Regions from separate parts of the Homo sapiens genome. Here all the other regions are linked to region 1. The links are contacts of gene promoters, found by promoter capture Hi-C in human tissues and cell types (Jung and others, 2019). All regions are on one chromosome and are shown on one strand. Each heading gives the region's core, a stretch centred on a gene start or on the middle of the fragment in contact. The rest is flanking DNA. Distances are from core to core; before and after follow the strand shown. Region 1 overlaps CCDC183 (coiled-coil domain containing 183). Region 2 holds the start of NRARP (NOTCH regulated ankyrin repeat protein). Region 3 holds the start of PMPCA (peptidase, mitochondrial processing subunit alpha). Region 4 holds the start of INPP5E (inositol polyphosphate-5-phosphatase E).

The links. The method cuts DNA at HindIII sites, captures the fragments that hold promoters and counts their contacts. A contact is called where the count stands out against the background at its distance.
Region 2: a contact is called between the fragment with the promoter of NRARP here and a fragment that was not itself captured in region 1, in 2 of the 25 tissues and cell types used here (lymphoblastoid cells and spleen).
Region 3: the fragment with the promoter of PMPCA here is called in contact with a fragment that was not itself captured in region 1 in 3 of the 25 tissues and cell types used here (hippocampus, lymphoblastoid cells and spleen).
Region 4: the fragment with the promoter of INPP5E here is called in contact with a fragment that was not itself captured in region 1 in 2 of the 25 tissues and cell types used here (hippocampus and spleen).

Annotation. Positions count from the first base shown.
Region 1 is chr9:136,801,901-136,804,923 of GRCh38, reverse strand. CCDC183 (coiled-coil domain containing 183) reads right to left here. Exons shown (of 14, transcript NM_001039374.5): 6 at 2,138-2,260; 7 at 297-422; 8 at 108-162. It overlaps CCDC183-AS1 (CCDC183 antisense RNA 1), which reads left to right. Exons shown (of 5, transcript NR_024580.1): 5 at 1-997. Among named protein-coding and RNA genes, the nearest start is that of RABL6, 4.5 kb to the left of the region's middle. The HindIII fragment of the contact is 7,702 bases long and covers 1-3,023 here.
Region 2 is chr9:137,300,769-137,303,791 of GRCh38, reverse strand. It overlaps NRARP (NOTCH regulated ankyrin repeat protein), which reads left to right and starts at 1,521. Exons shown (of 1, transcript NM_001004354.3): 1 at 1,521-3,023. The coding sequence starts at 1,864. The coding sequence ends at 2,208. RefSeq lists silencers at 962-1,601, 2,284-2,363, 2,434-2,493, 2,614-2,663 and an enhancer at 1,304-2,222. The HindIII fragment of the contact is 30,312 bases long and covers 1-3,023 here.
Region 3 is chr9:136,409,050-136,412,072 of GRCh38, reverse strand. It overlaps PMPCA (peptidase, mitochondrial processing subunit alpha), which reads right to left and starts at 1,415. Exons shown (of 13, transcript NM_015160.3): 1 at 1,334-1,415; 2 at 1-76. The coding sequence starts at 1,404. ENTR1 (endosome associated trafficking regulator 1) reads left to right here and starts at 1,459. Exons shown (of 10, transcript NM_001039707.2): 1 at 1,459-1,745; 2 at 1,834-1,983; 3 at 3,006-3,023. The coding sequence starts at 1,676. RefSeq lists enhancers at 1,177-1,226, 1,257-1,346, 2,197-2,356 and silencers at 1,557-1,646, 1,787-1,836. The HindIII fragment of the contact is 13,229 bases long and covers 1-3,023 here.
Region 4 is chr9:136,438,204-136,441,226 of GRCh38, reverse strand. It overlaps INPP5E (inositol polyphosphate-5-phosphatase E), which reads left to right and starts at 1,382. Exons shown (of 10, transcript NM_019892.6): 1 at 1,382-2,619. The coding sequence starts at 1,808. It overlaps SEC16A (SEC16 homolog A, endoplasmic reticulum export factor), which reads left to right. Exons shown (of 32, transcript NM_014866.2): 32 at 1-1,122. RefSeq lists silencers at 1,224-1,423, 1,474-1,653, 1,714-2,203 and enhancers at 1,276-1,909, 1,910-2,544, 2,494-2,603, 2,545-3,023. The HindIII fragment of the contact is 9,976 bases long and covers 825-3,023 here.

The sequences.
Region 1 (3,023 bases), core at 137-2,636:
ACCACATGTCACACCTGGCCTCAGGGTGACTTGATCCGTTGGCCTGAATCAGTGCCAGCCTCTCCTTGGGACCCTGGCTGGGGGCAGGTGGGGAGCTGAGCGCTTACATTTCAGGGTCTCCGTGCTCATCAGGTTCGAGGGGAAGTCCAAGTCCATCTGGCCCTGATGGGAGGTGGGGGCGGGGAAGGGATGAGACATCCTTGGCAGGGAGTGGGCCCTGAGTGGTGGCCCTGAGCCTGTGTCCACCCAGCTGTCATGGGGATGGGCAGCCAGCCAGGCCCTGGCCTGGGGCTTACCCGGCGGTACTTCTCGCTGGTCTCCTTCGTGTGGATCTTGTCGATCAGCTTCTTCTGCTGGTTGAGCCGGTTCTCCCTTGCCCGGCGCTCCTCGATGAAGGACGCCTCCCTTTGCCTCATGTTCCTCTGGGGACATGCGGGTGGGCACAGGGTTGGGGAGCTGTCTCAACAAGGCCCCTAATGGCAGTAAAGCCAGCGGGCGGTTGGCCATGCTCACCTTACTAGACTTTGGAACTGCATCCCCGGCCAATGGCCACACCCTTTTCCTAAACCACTTGTGCCCGTGGCCCCTCAGCTCACGGCCCTCCTTGCCCATGCCTCAGAGCATGTGCCAGCCCAGACGCTCTGCTGCCCTCCAGCCGCTGGCCCCCAGCTGCCTCCTGGCCAGGTCCACCTAGAACTCACGGAAGTGCATTCAGCCTGCCTGAAGACAGATTCATCCTCTTCCCCAAAACCTGGCCTCTTCCAGCGTGCCCTTGGGCAGCTAAAACCGTCATCTGCTAACCCCTGCTCACGCACCCCAGACACTGCTCTCACCCTCGCCACTCTCGTTGCCAGCGCTTAGTGGGGTTGCCTCTTGAGGAGTTCTCAGCTCCGTTGCTCCTGGCCACCCCTTCTCCACCCCGGGTATACCCAGGTGATCAGCGCTTCTGCCCTGGCACCTTCCAGTCCCTGCAGCCTGAGTACACCCTTTCTGAAGCACAGACCTGGTCACATCTTTCCTCCACCTCCTCCCAGGGCTCCAGGTCAGTCCTTGGGCCCCCAGCCCAGCCGCCTCCGTGGACTCCTGGGGCCTGTGCCTCTGCAGCCTCCACTGCCCTGGCCACACGCTGCTCCATGTATCACACCCCTCCCAGCCCAGGGCCTTTTCCCAAGTTGTACCTCCTCCTCCCTAGCCCTGGCCACACCTGACCTTTGCGGGTTCAATCCCTCAGCCCAGCTCAAGCACTGTCTTCCTGGAAAGCCATCTGCCACCCCACCTGTCTCTGCTGAGCTGGCTCAGGGGCTGTGTGGCATTTCTTCATGGACTACTGGATGAGTGCCACCCACTTCAGGAGGACAGGGTCTGCCTGTCCCGGTCCCTGCTGTATCCCCAGAGCCTTGCAGGGACCTTGGCACAGACTGGGTGAATAGGTGACCCCCGCCCTGGCCCGGCCAGTTCTCTCCCTCTCCTCTACTTCATGGCTCCTGTGCTGGATGGGACCTGCTCTGTCCAGTGGGTGAGCAGAGCAGGCTGGCCGGGCTGGCCACTGGATCCTTCTGGGGATTGTAGGCAGTGTGGGCATGGGGGTCTCCTGAGAGACCCTGGCCAGAAGACACAAGAGAGCCCGCCCTGGGGGGCCCCAGCCCTGGGCCCTGAGCTCACCTTGACCCCATCCGAAGATCCAAGAGGGCTGGCCCTGGGGGGCCCCCAGCCCTGGGCCCTGAGCTCACCTTGACCCCATCCGAAGATCCAAGAGGGCTGGCCCTGGGGGGCCCCAGCCCTGGGCCCTGAGCTCACCTTGACCCCATCCGAAGATCCAAGAGGGCTGGCCCTGGGGGGCCCCCGGCCCTGGGCCCTGAGCTCACCTTGACCCCATCCGAAGATCCAAGAGGGCTGGCCCTGGGGGGCCCCCAGCCCTGGGCCCTGAGCTCACCTTGACCCCATCCGAAGATCCAAGAGGGCTGGCCCTGGGGGGCCCCCGGCCCTGGGCCCTGAGCTCACCTTGACCCCATCCGAAGATCCAAGAGGGCTGGCCCTGGGGGGCCCCCAGCCCTGGGCCCTGAGCTCACCTTGACCCCATCCGAAGATCCAAGAGGGCTGGCCCTGGGGGGCCCCCAGCCCTGGGCCCTGAGCTCACCTTGACCTCATCCGTGATCATCATGGCATCTTGGGACATGATCTTCATATCCGACAGCTCTGAGCAGTAGTTGACCACGAGGTTCTGCAGCTTGTCCAGCTCAATGGGGTATCCTGCCAGCACCTGTGTTGAATGGGGTTCTCTTGTGGCCCCTACAGAGTGGGCTGCAGTTGCCCCGAGCTTTTATCCCCCGACTAAGAGCCCTGAGAACAGTGATAGGTTCTCCTCTGTGGCCCCAGCCACCTCCCCCACTCCCCGCTGGGCACAACGGTGATGAAAGGTGTTTCACAGGGAGTGGACAGTGCTGGCCTGGTGGACTCTTTCACCACCTAGGGTCCAACAACCCAGAGAGACTGAGAGAGTTTGTGATGAAATGCTCTGCAGAAAAGGCTGACTGAAACCCGGGGAGGTTTGGGGACAGTTCTGCTTTGAAGTGAAACAGAGGGGCTCAAGACATGGGCTTGGGGTCAGAGAGTCAGGATTCAAGGCCAAGGCAGCTTCTGACCAGCTAGTTTAGCTGTGTGACATTGGGAAAGTTACTTAATCTCTCTGTGTCCCCATTTGTAAGATGATGGCTCGTTCAGAAGGTTGCCATCAGGATGAATTGAGTGTAAAAGGAATTATTTAGCCCAGAACCAGGTACATACGTGCTCAGGATAGCTTTGCTATAGTGGTTTGTTTTTTGTAACTACAAGTATAGGCCAGGTGCGGTGGCTCACGCCTGTAATCCCAACACTGGGAGGCCGGAGGCAGGCAGATCATGAGGTCAGGAGTTAGAGACCAGCCTGGCCAACATAGTGAAACCCTGTCTCTACTAAAAATACAAAAAAAATCAGCCGGGCGTGGTAGTGGGCGCCTGTAATTCTAGCTATTCGGGAGGCTGAGG
Region 2 (3,023 bases), core at 272-2,771, 500 kb before region 1:
CACAGCGCCCATCTCTGTTCTGCTGGGGGCCTACTCCGGGACTCCACTGTGTCCTCACCTGCATATTGGGGAGCACCCCTCCACCCTCCGTGGCCCCCTTGAGAGCTCCTGGGAGAAGCAGTGAGGCCCAAAGGAGAGAGCTGAACAGAACCAGCGGGATCACGGCCCCAGGAAGACCAGAGCGAGCTCTGAGCTGTGCCTTTGAGGGACAGAGGTTCCCAGCCCACCAGGAGGACCCCAGGGCCTCAGGACCCTGCTCCGGTCAGCCAGGGTCTGTCCCGAAGGGAGCCTGCCCAGTTTTTCCTGCCAGTATGGGCACAGCATGGGGTGGGGACACACCCCTGTGGGGAGCCGGATGTGGGGACATGGAGCTGGTGGGCGGAAGCCTCCTCAGACAAGGCCTGGCATGGGGGTCTCCCCAGCCCGAGCTCAGAGCTGCCTGCGCGGAATTCCCGGCTTGGCTTCAGAAGGAATTCAAGCCCCAGCCTGCCTGGCCTCCTGCTCCGCGCCTGAGAATCACTCCTCCTTAATTTCCAACGACCACAGCGAGTTGTAAACTGTAAAACTCTAATGAGGAAATGCGCTGTGCTTCCCCTGCTAGTGCCTCCCGGTCAATTGTTAGAGTGGTCAATAAAAATGGGTTTTACAGTTTGGAAGCCAGGCGTTTCAGAATTCCCTTCTGGCCCTGGCGCCACACCTAGCCCTGCTCACCTGGGCAGGACCTATGTGTCCCGCATGCTGGTGCGTGGGCAGCAGAGGGAGGCAGGCCGCGGTCCCGACCCTCCCGCTGCGCCCCGGCCCGGGGCTTCCTCCCGAGAGGACAGCGGAACCCCCTTCACCGCCAGGCGATAGAAGCCGCGGTGGCCGGCCGGAGGCCCCTCGCATCAGTACGGTTGGGGCACACATAGGCTGAGCCGGCGGCCATGAGGCTGCCCGCGCGCGGGAAGGACCCGCGTGGCTGAAGGCCCCACGTCAGGGCCTGGAGTTGCCACCCGCGTGGACGGTGAGCCCGGAGGCGCGGGCTGGCCGGGGTCGCCGCGCGCCTCTCCGCTCAGAGGGGTCTCTCCTTCGCCACGGGCCTGAGATGCCCGCGAACCCCCTGCCCGGGAGAGGCCGCCCTCGGGGCCACCTGGCGGTCGCGCTCGGGTACCGGGCAAGGCCTGGGTCTGGCTGCTGAGGGAGCTTGGAATTCCCCGGGTGGCCGGAGGGAGAAGGGGCGGGACGACCGCAAAGAGACGCGGAGCGCCCGGGGGGCGCGCGGACGGCGGCGGCGACGGAGCTGGACCCCCCCGGCGGCCACCTGGCCTCCCCCGCCCAGGCGCTGCCGGCGACCAGCGCCCCCTGCCGCGAAGCGCGCCGCCGCCGGGACCCGCCCCCGGACCCCTGCGCACGGCACCGCCCACGCCCCGCCCCCATGTGGGCGCGGCCCAATCCCGGGGCCGCCGGCGCGCGCGTCACGGGCTGCCATTGTTATGCAAATATAAAGAAGGTAAAAGGCGCCCCGGCGCGGCGGGCGAGCTAGTGCTGCGGCGCGTGGGGAGGCGCCTTGGGACCGCGTGGGAGCCGCAGCCGAACCGAGTAGGGACCGGGACCGCGCGGCGCCGCCGTCCCCGGCCGGGCCCGGCCCCCGCGAGCCGAGCGCGCGCCCCCGTCGCCCACCCGGGCGCGGCTGGATGCGGCGGGGTCCCCGCGGCGGCGACCCCCGGCCCCGAGCGCCCGGAGCGCCCAGAGGCGGCGTGCGGGGCCCGGGGACGCCGCGCCCTCCATGCGCCGAGGCGCGCCCCGAGACAGCCGGGGGCCCGCGCCGCAGCCGCCGCCCGCGCTGAGCCCCGGCCCGGCCCGCGGCCCGCGCCCGGCGGCAGCATGAGCCAGGCCGAGCTGTCCACCTGCTCCGCGCCGCAGACGCAGCGCATCTTCCAGGAGGCTGTGCGCAAGGGCAACACGCAGGAGCTGCAGTCGCTGCTGCAGAACATGACCAACTGCGAGTTCAACGTGAACTCGTTCGGGCCCGAGGGCCAGACGGCGCTGCACCAGTCGGTCATCGACGGCAACCTGGAGCTCGTGAAGCTGCTGGTCAAGTTCGGCGCCGACATCCGCCTGGCCAACCGCGACGGCTGGAGCGCGCTGCACATCGCCGCGTTCGGTGGCCACCAGGACATCGTGCTCTATCTCATCACCAAGGCGAAGTACGCGGCCAGCGGCCGGTGATGCCCGCCGGGACCCCGGACCCCGGCCCTGCGCCCGCGTCGTCTCTGCTGTACCTTCCCGCCAACTACCTCGGTGCGCGCCCGGCTCGCAGGCCCCGCCAGAAGGCCCGTGGCCACGGCGAATACGGCGCGTGCGTCCCGGCCCCAGGGTCCGGCAGCCCCGCCGGCCGAGCGCCTCCCTGCGGCCTAGCCGGGCCCGGCCGGGCCGGAGCAGCTTCCCACGGCCCCCACCCGCTCGCCTGCCCGCCGCCTCGCGGGTGGGGGCGGGGCGCGGGCTCCAGCCCCTTTTGAAATTTGAGTCTCGCAACCAGCAAGTTCGGAATCCCGAGATACCGGATCCTCTGCGCAAAATGTTTTCTCCCGAAGGTGAAAGGCGGGCGGCGGGAGCCGAAGGCGGACTCGGAGCGCTCCGCCGCCGCCTTCAGGACCCGCCCGCAGGCCCGGGACGCGCCGATGCCGGCTGCAGCCGAGGAGCAGCCCCGAGGTCCGAGGTCCGCGCCGCTGGCGCGCGGCCGAGGAGACGCTCGGCTGTTCGCTGTTGCTGGTGTTCTAAACTATTTATCTTGTGTGTGTACATTTGTGGGTGGAGTTTGTGCGCCTGGTTTTTTTGTTTGGAAAACACTGCGTGGTCAATGTGGTTATGGGGGGGAGTGATGCATTTTTTTCTAGTCTTAAAACTAAAAACTTGAGTCTACCATTTCTTGGTTGCACTGAAAATACCGCCCAGCCTGATGGTGTTCCCGTGCTGTCCCTCCCCCTTCCCTTCTCCCCGCGTCTACCTCCCCACCCCGTTCTGTTCCCCCTCCCTCCTTCTCC
Region 3 (3,023 bases), core at 166-2,665, 390 kb after region 1:
AGGTAAGGGAGAAGAGAGGGGGATGTTGGGATAGGCACCACCACTACTAAACCGTCTGTACGCAGGAGGTCCAAACCTAAAACAGAGAAAGCGGCCCAGTTACAACAGGCTTGAGACAACAAACCTGTGATGACCTGTTAGGTGCGGTTAGTTATGTTTTGTCTGGGTTAAAAGTGAGCATCTGCCTTTCTACAGGACTTATTTCTACAGACTTTGGAAGACAAAGCAGAGGCTGACAACAAAGGCTCAGCCACGGGACCTGGAGCAAGCTGGTTCCGTCCTTTGGGTCTTAGTTGCTATCTCTGTAAAAACAGGGCTTATTAACAGTAACTCACTCTAAGTGCAGTTTGTACACATAAAGCACTTAACAGCTCTGCCCTCCAACAGCACCACCGAAGTCTTGGATAAAAGCCATATCCCTTATTAACCTGGTCCGAAGGCGGGGTGTGACTTGGCCTCTGTCTCCCTCTCCAAACTCATCTCTTGAACCCCCACACTCCCATAGGTCCTGGTCACACTGATTCTTGTCAATTCCTGGAACACATTTGACTCATCAACCCCAAAGCTTCTTCACCGTTCCAGGGCTTGCCCTTTGCCCATGCCTACCCCTTCTTTCATTCTTCAGCTCTTCCCTTAAATGTCACCCTGATGGAGGACTATCCCTCACCAGTCTAGTCTTTCCTGCTATTTTCTATCATGAAAGGCTGCTTGTTTACTCCAAAGCATTTACGCGACTGCCGATATTTTGTTTACGCTCCAGCCTGTATCCATCTCCTGGAGGCAGCACCTCCGCACCCCTGAAACGGCGCTCGTTGTGTGGGGAGGGGCGACGCCTGTGCTGTCGGAACAAAGTTCCAGCGTGGGGAAAGGCAGGCCCGGTCACTTGGGTGGGAGGAGCGGTGGGTACGGAAAGGGTTCTTAAACGTCAGAGATCAACGGACAGACCGCAGCAACCGAGAGCCTGGACCCTGGTGTCAGAACCCTGCGGGTCTAACAGAGCTGGGCCCCCACCGGCTCAGCCTCCTGAAGGAGCACGCGGTAGGTGAAGCGCGGGGGCAAATATGAGGCATGGCCTCGGAGAAGGCCCGTCGACCCGGGAAGTGAGGGGGGGAGAGGACCCAGCAGCCGGGGAGAGGAGAGACAGATGGGACTGCGTCCCCGGGCTCGAGGCGCAAAGCAAGGCAGGGCCCCCGTCGCCTCGGGGACACCAGTGTCCCGAAGTGCGAGCCCGTCCCACGGGCGCCATGTCACCTGTAGAAACCGAAGACGGAGCGTCCAGAAAGACTCGAGCCGCCCCCGCCCCAGGCCGAAGCCTGGTTCGCCTTTGGCTCACCTCAGCCGCGAACAGCCCCAAGAACCCGAGCCCCGCAGCAACCGCGTCGCCGCCAGCACCACAGCCGCCATCTTGCGTCTCCGCCCCGCTTCAGTCGTCACTTCCGCTTCCGCCCACGGCTTCCCCTCCCCCTCGCCGACGGCCCAAGGCGTTCAGGCACGCGCTTTCGGTGCTCGGAGCGGAAGCAGCGGCGAGAGGCTCGGAGGCGCGGGGGCGGCCGAGCGGCGGGCGACGGGGGCGGGCGACGGGGGCGGGCGACGCGGGCCGCGGCACGGGCGGAGCCGGGGCCATGGAGCCGCCGCTGCCGGGCTAGGCAGGTCGTGCCCCGCCGGGCCGGCGGCGATGTCGGGCTACCAGCGCCGCCCGGGCGCCACCCCGCTGTCCCGAGCCCGGAGCCTCGCCATTCCCGACGGTGAGCGGGGCAGGGGCCGAGTCCAGCGGTCCAGGTGGGCGGCGGCCGCCCCGGCACGCAGTAAAGTCGCTGTTGTCGTTGCTTCCAGCTCCAGCGTTCTATGAGCGCCGGTCTTGTCTCCCCCAGCTAAATTGTGAGCGCCCCCATGGCAGGGACCTGGACTCCCCCTTCTTCGGCATTCGGCCGGCCTTTATGTGCTATGTGCCCAGCCCGGTGCTGGCTTCCGTGGGAGACACAGGTGAGAGACGAGGGCGCCGGCCCCGGGGACGCTTCCAGTTCCCGCGCCACGTGTGGCACCTCCGCTGCAGCACGAGCTCGTCCATTGACCCATCAATGTGCAGAGCGCTCACTGCGTGCCAGGCACTCGGAATTCAAAGGCGGAGTCCCCTGCTAGGAGCTCACAGTCTGGTTGCGGGGAGACCTCCCCCAAGACAGACAGTTCCAGTACAGGATGGTTAGTGCCCGGGGAGCACAGGAGCCCGCCCGCTTTCCTCGTGGGGCTGGAGTCGGGGTGCCTTCACCTAGTGGGCAGTGATTGGAAACCGAGCTGGAGCATTCCATCTGCCTCCACAGCCGGGCAGTGGCCAGATCTGGTTCGTCCTCGTTCTACCCAAGCAGAAGTGCTGCTGGGTGCCCGGGGTGTGCAGGAGTGTTTGTGTGGTTATGCCAGGATCTGAGGACATTCGGGGGTTGTCACAAGACAAGAGGACGCGCTTGCCCCGGCTGGGCTTCAAAATCTGCTGAGGAGCCGCTTTCAGACCACGGACACCAGGGCCAGTCTGCAAGTCAGGCCATCTCCAGGGTCACAAGTCTGGGAGCTTGTGTTTTTTTTAAAGTTTTCTCGGCTGACCGGGCGCAGTGGCTTACGCCTGTAATCCCAGCACTTTGGGAGGCCGAGGCAGGCGGATCATGAGGTCAGGAGATTGAGACCATCCTGGCTAACAGGGTGAAAACCCGTCTCTACAAAAAATACAAAAAAATTAGCCGGGCGTGGTGGCAGGTGCCTGTAGTCCCAGCTACTCGGGAGGATGAGGCAGGAGAATGGCGTGAACCCAGGAGGCGGAGCTTGCAGGGAGCCGAGATCGCACCACTGCACTCCAGCTTGGGCGACAGAGCAAGACTCCGTCTCAAAAAAAAAAAAAAAGTTCTCTAGACTGTGAGAACCACTGCAGTGGAGACTCCATGTGCAAAAGAAAAAAACCAAATGTGAGGTCATAAAGACTTCCTGCCAGCATGGTGGGTGACATTGTTTCTTTGCAGATTTTGGCTATGGAAAGG
Region 4 (3,023 bases), core at 133-2,632, 360 kb after region 1:
GGGCGCTGTGTTCTCAATCAGCGCCTCCGAGGAGCCGTGGGGTTCCTTCGGCATTAGTTCACGGTTTTTGAGAGAGGCCTTAGTTACTGCAGTGAATTTCTTTCCTGTTGCAAAGACGCTTCCAGCCTCACTTTACTTTCTGTGGCCTGATGAGGACCATGGGTGATTTTGTGTACCCAAAGCGCTGGGGACTGCCCACCGTGTGGCCCAGTCACTGGGAAGGAGCCCCAGAGAGCCGGCTGTCTGACATGATGGCTCAGGGTGGTCATCCAGGTTGAAAACTGACCGTGTGATGTTTGATTTGGGCTTCATTTCGTGTGTAGGAGCACGGTTAGACTCACTGTTAAGGAAGCTGGATGCACTTCTCTAAAAGGCTGCACTTTCCGTGAGCACTTTTCGTGGTACAATCCACATGACCCACTTTCTCCCCTGGGGGACGTTGGTTCAGAGGTTGGTAGCACTTGGGGAGAGTATCTTAACACAGTTTCTTGACAGCAGCTCTGGAACTTAGTATTTCTGCCCCGAGTTTTGCCACACTGAGACTTTGAGTAGCTCCTGGTGGACTCAACCCTGTTCAACTCAGAGACGGGCCTCCTCTCACTGATGCAAAGCTTTAAGGCTTCTCTGACTGTTCTGAAACTCTTCGTATTCTTGTCAAGTCTAAAGAGACTGAAGAAAAGATTTAAATACTAATAAAAATCAGTAGATAATTTCTGTAGGTTCTGCTGGAGGAATACAAACTGTTTGGTGTTTTAAATTTAAGTGTAGAAATTGTAGAATGTGGAATTAGCACAGATCCTTCCTGGCTTTCTGTTTCACTTGATCATTTAGCCCAGACCACCCAGGATGTTTTCCAAAATGTTCCACAGGCGTGTCCCGCTGGATCCATTTGTCCTTGTCACTTGGAGAAAGGCCAGTCCCTGTGACGGGGCAGCCCTCTCTGTCCCTCGGTCAGCTCGTGTGAATCCTGGGACCTCTTCCGGTCGGCTCTGCCCGCTGTTCTGGGGTCGACTGCCACGACTTTTGATTCAAGAAGCTTCCTCCAGGCGGGAGCGGCTATTTTTCCTAAATGAGAATTGTTACATTGCAAATTGTTGAATAAAATATTTTGCGCTCCTTCAAGCACCTTCACCTGTGGTTCCCTTTGGTTTGCTGGAAGCGAGTGAGTGCAGGTGTCCGCAGGCCTCGGCGCTGTCCTGGACCGCACCCAGGTCCTCTCCGGGGACCTGCACCTGCCTCGCTGGGACCTGCCGGACTGCGGGGCTGCCGGGTTGGGAGGGGCGTGGGAGACCCGTCCGGGTCCGGTGCGGCGCAGTCCTCCGGCCGCCAGGGGCCGCTGTGGGCGGGGCCGGGGCGCGGGGCGGGGACCGGGCGCGGCCCCGCGGCGGCGGTTGCTGGGTCCCGGCCGGGCTGACTCCGCTTCTGGGCGGCCGGGCCTCCGCGAGTACCGGGTCGACTTCGGAGTCTGCGAGCCCAGCCAGGGGTGCCCGCTTCCCACCCCTCTCCCCGAGCGGCGTCCCCGTCGGGGTCGAACCTCCCCCGCGACAGGCGCCCAGCCGCCTGTTCCCCCAGGCCTTGCCTGCGGACCGCCCTGGGAACGGCGTCTGGGAGCCCCGAGGGGCTGGCGGGACTCGGGGCCCGGGCCATGCGGCAGCCGCCCCCGCCCCTCCGCGACCATCCCCGGCCCAAGCGGGAGCCGCAGCGGCGTTTCTGCTCCTCGCTGCGCCGGCGACCCCGGACCCGGCACCCGTGACCCCTCGCGCTGCCTGCGGCCTCGCGCCGAGGCCTGCCCCGGGAGAGACCGTCCATGCCGTCCAAGGCGGAGAATCTGCGGCCCTCCGAGCCGGCCCCGCAGCCGCCGGAAGGGAGGACGCTCCAAGGACAGCTTCCCGGCGCTCCGCCGGCCCAGCGCGCGGGGTCCCCACCCGATGCTCCGGGCTCCGAGAGCCCCGCGCTTGCCTGCAGCACTCCGGCCACGCCCAGCGGCGAGGACCCGCCAGCCCGAGCAGCACCCATCGCCCCGCGGCCCCCCGCCAGGCCTCGACTGGAGCGAGCCCTGTCCCTGGACGACAAGGGCTGGAGGAGGAGGCGTTTTCGAGGCAGCCAGGAGGACCTGGAAGCCCGGAATGGGACCAGTCCCTCCAGGGGCTCAGTGCAGAGCGAGGGCCCCGGGGCCCCCGCCCACAGCTGCTCCCCGCCCTGCCTGAGCACCTCCTTGCAGGAAATCCCCAAGTCCCGCGGGGTCCTGAGCAGTGAGAGAGGGAGCCCGTCCTCGGGGGGTAACCCTCTCTCTGGGGTGGCCAGCAGCTCCCCGAACCTCCCGCACAGAGACGCCGCCGTGGCGGGGAGCTCGCCCAGGCTGCCCAGCCTGCTGCCCCCGCGCCCACCGCCTGCCCTGAGCCTGGACATCGCCTCCGACTCCCTGAGGACAGCAAACAAGGTCGACTCGGATCTTGCAGACTACAAGCTCCGCGCGCAGCCGCTCCTGGTGCGGGCCCACAGCAGCCTGGGCCCCGGCCGGCCGCGGAGCCCCCTGGCCTGCGACGACTGTTCCCTTCGCTCGGCCAAATCCTCCTTCAGCCTCCTGGCGCCCATCCGCAGCAAGGACGTCCGCAGCAGGTAGGGAGGGCCTGGCGGGTGCAGCGCCCGCGCCGCCTTCGTTGTAGTGTTCAGGCTGCTGGAACCTCGTGAGACCGTTCCCATCAGCAGCGTTTAAGATGCCTAACCGGAAAGAACGAAGCGGGTCTCCCGCAGCCACCCCATCTCCCAGCCCCACCCCACAGCAGCGCCCTTCCCAGAACTTTTCCTGTGCGTTTCAGAACCATTCGTGGGCGTGACGTTGTGTTAAGGTAGACAGGATGGCATCCTGCATACAATTACGTATCTGGCGCTTTTTCTTGTTTAGTCTTGGGAAATGTCGTCAATGTATACGATCCGCCCCTTTGGTTGTTTTTGTTTGTTACTCTCTCTGTCGCCCAGGCTGGAGTGCAGCGGCGCGATCCCGGCTCACTGCAACCTCTGCC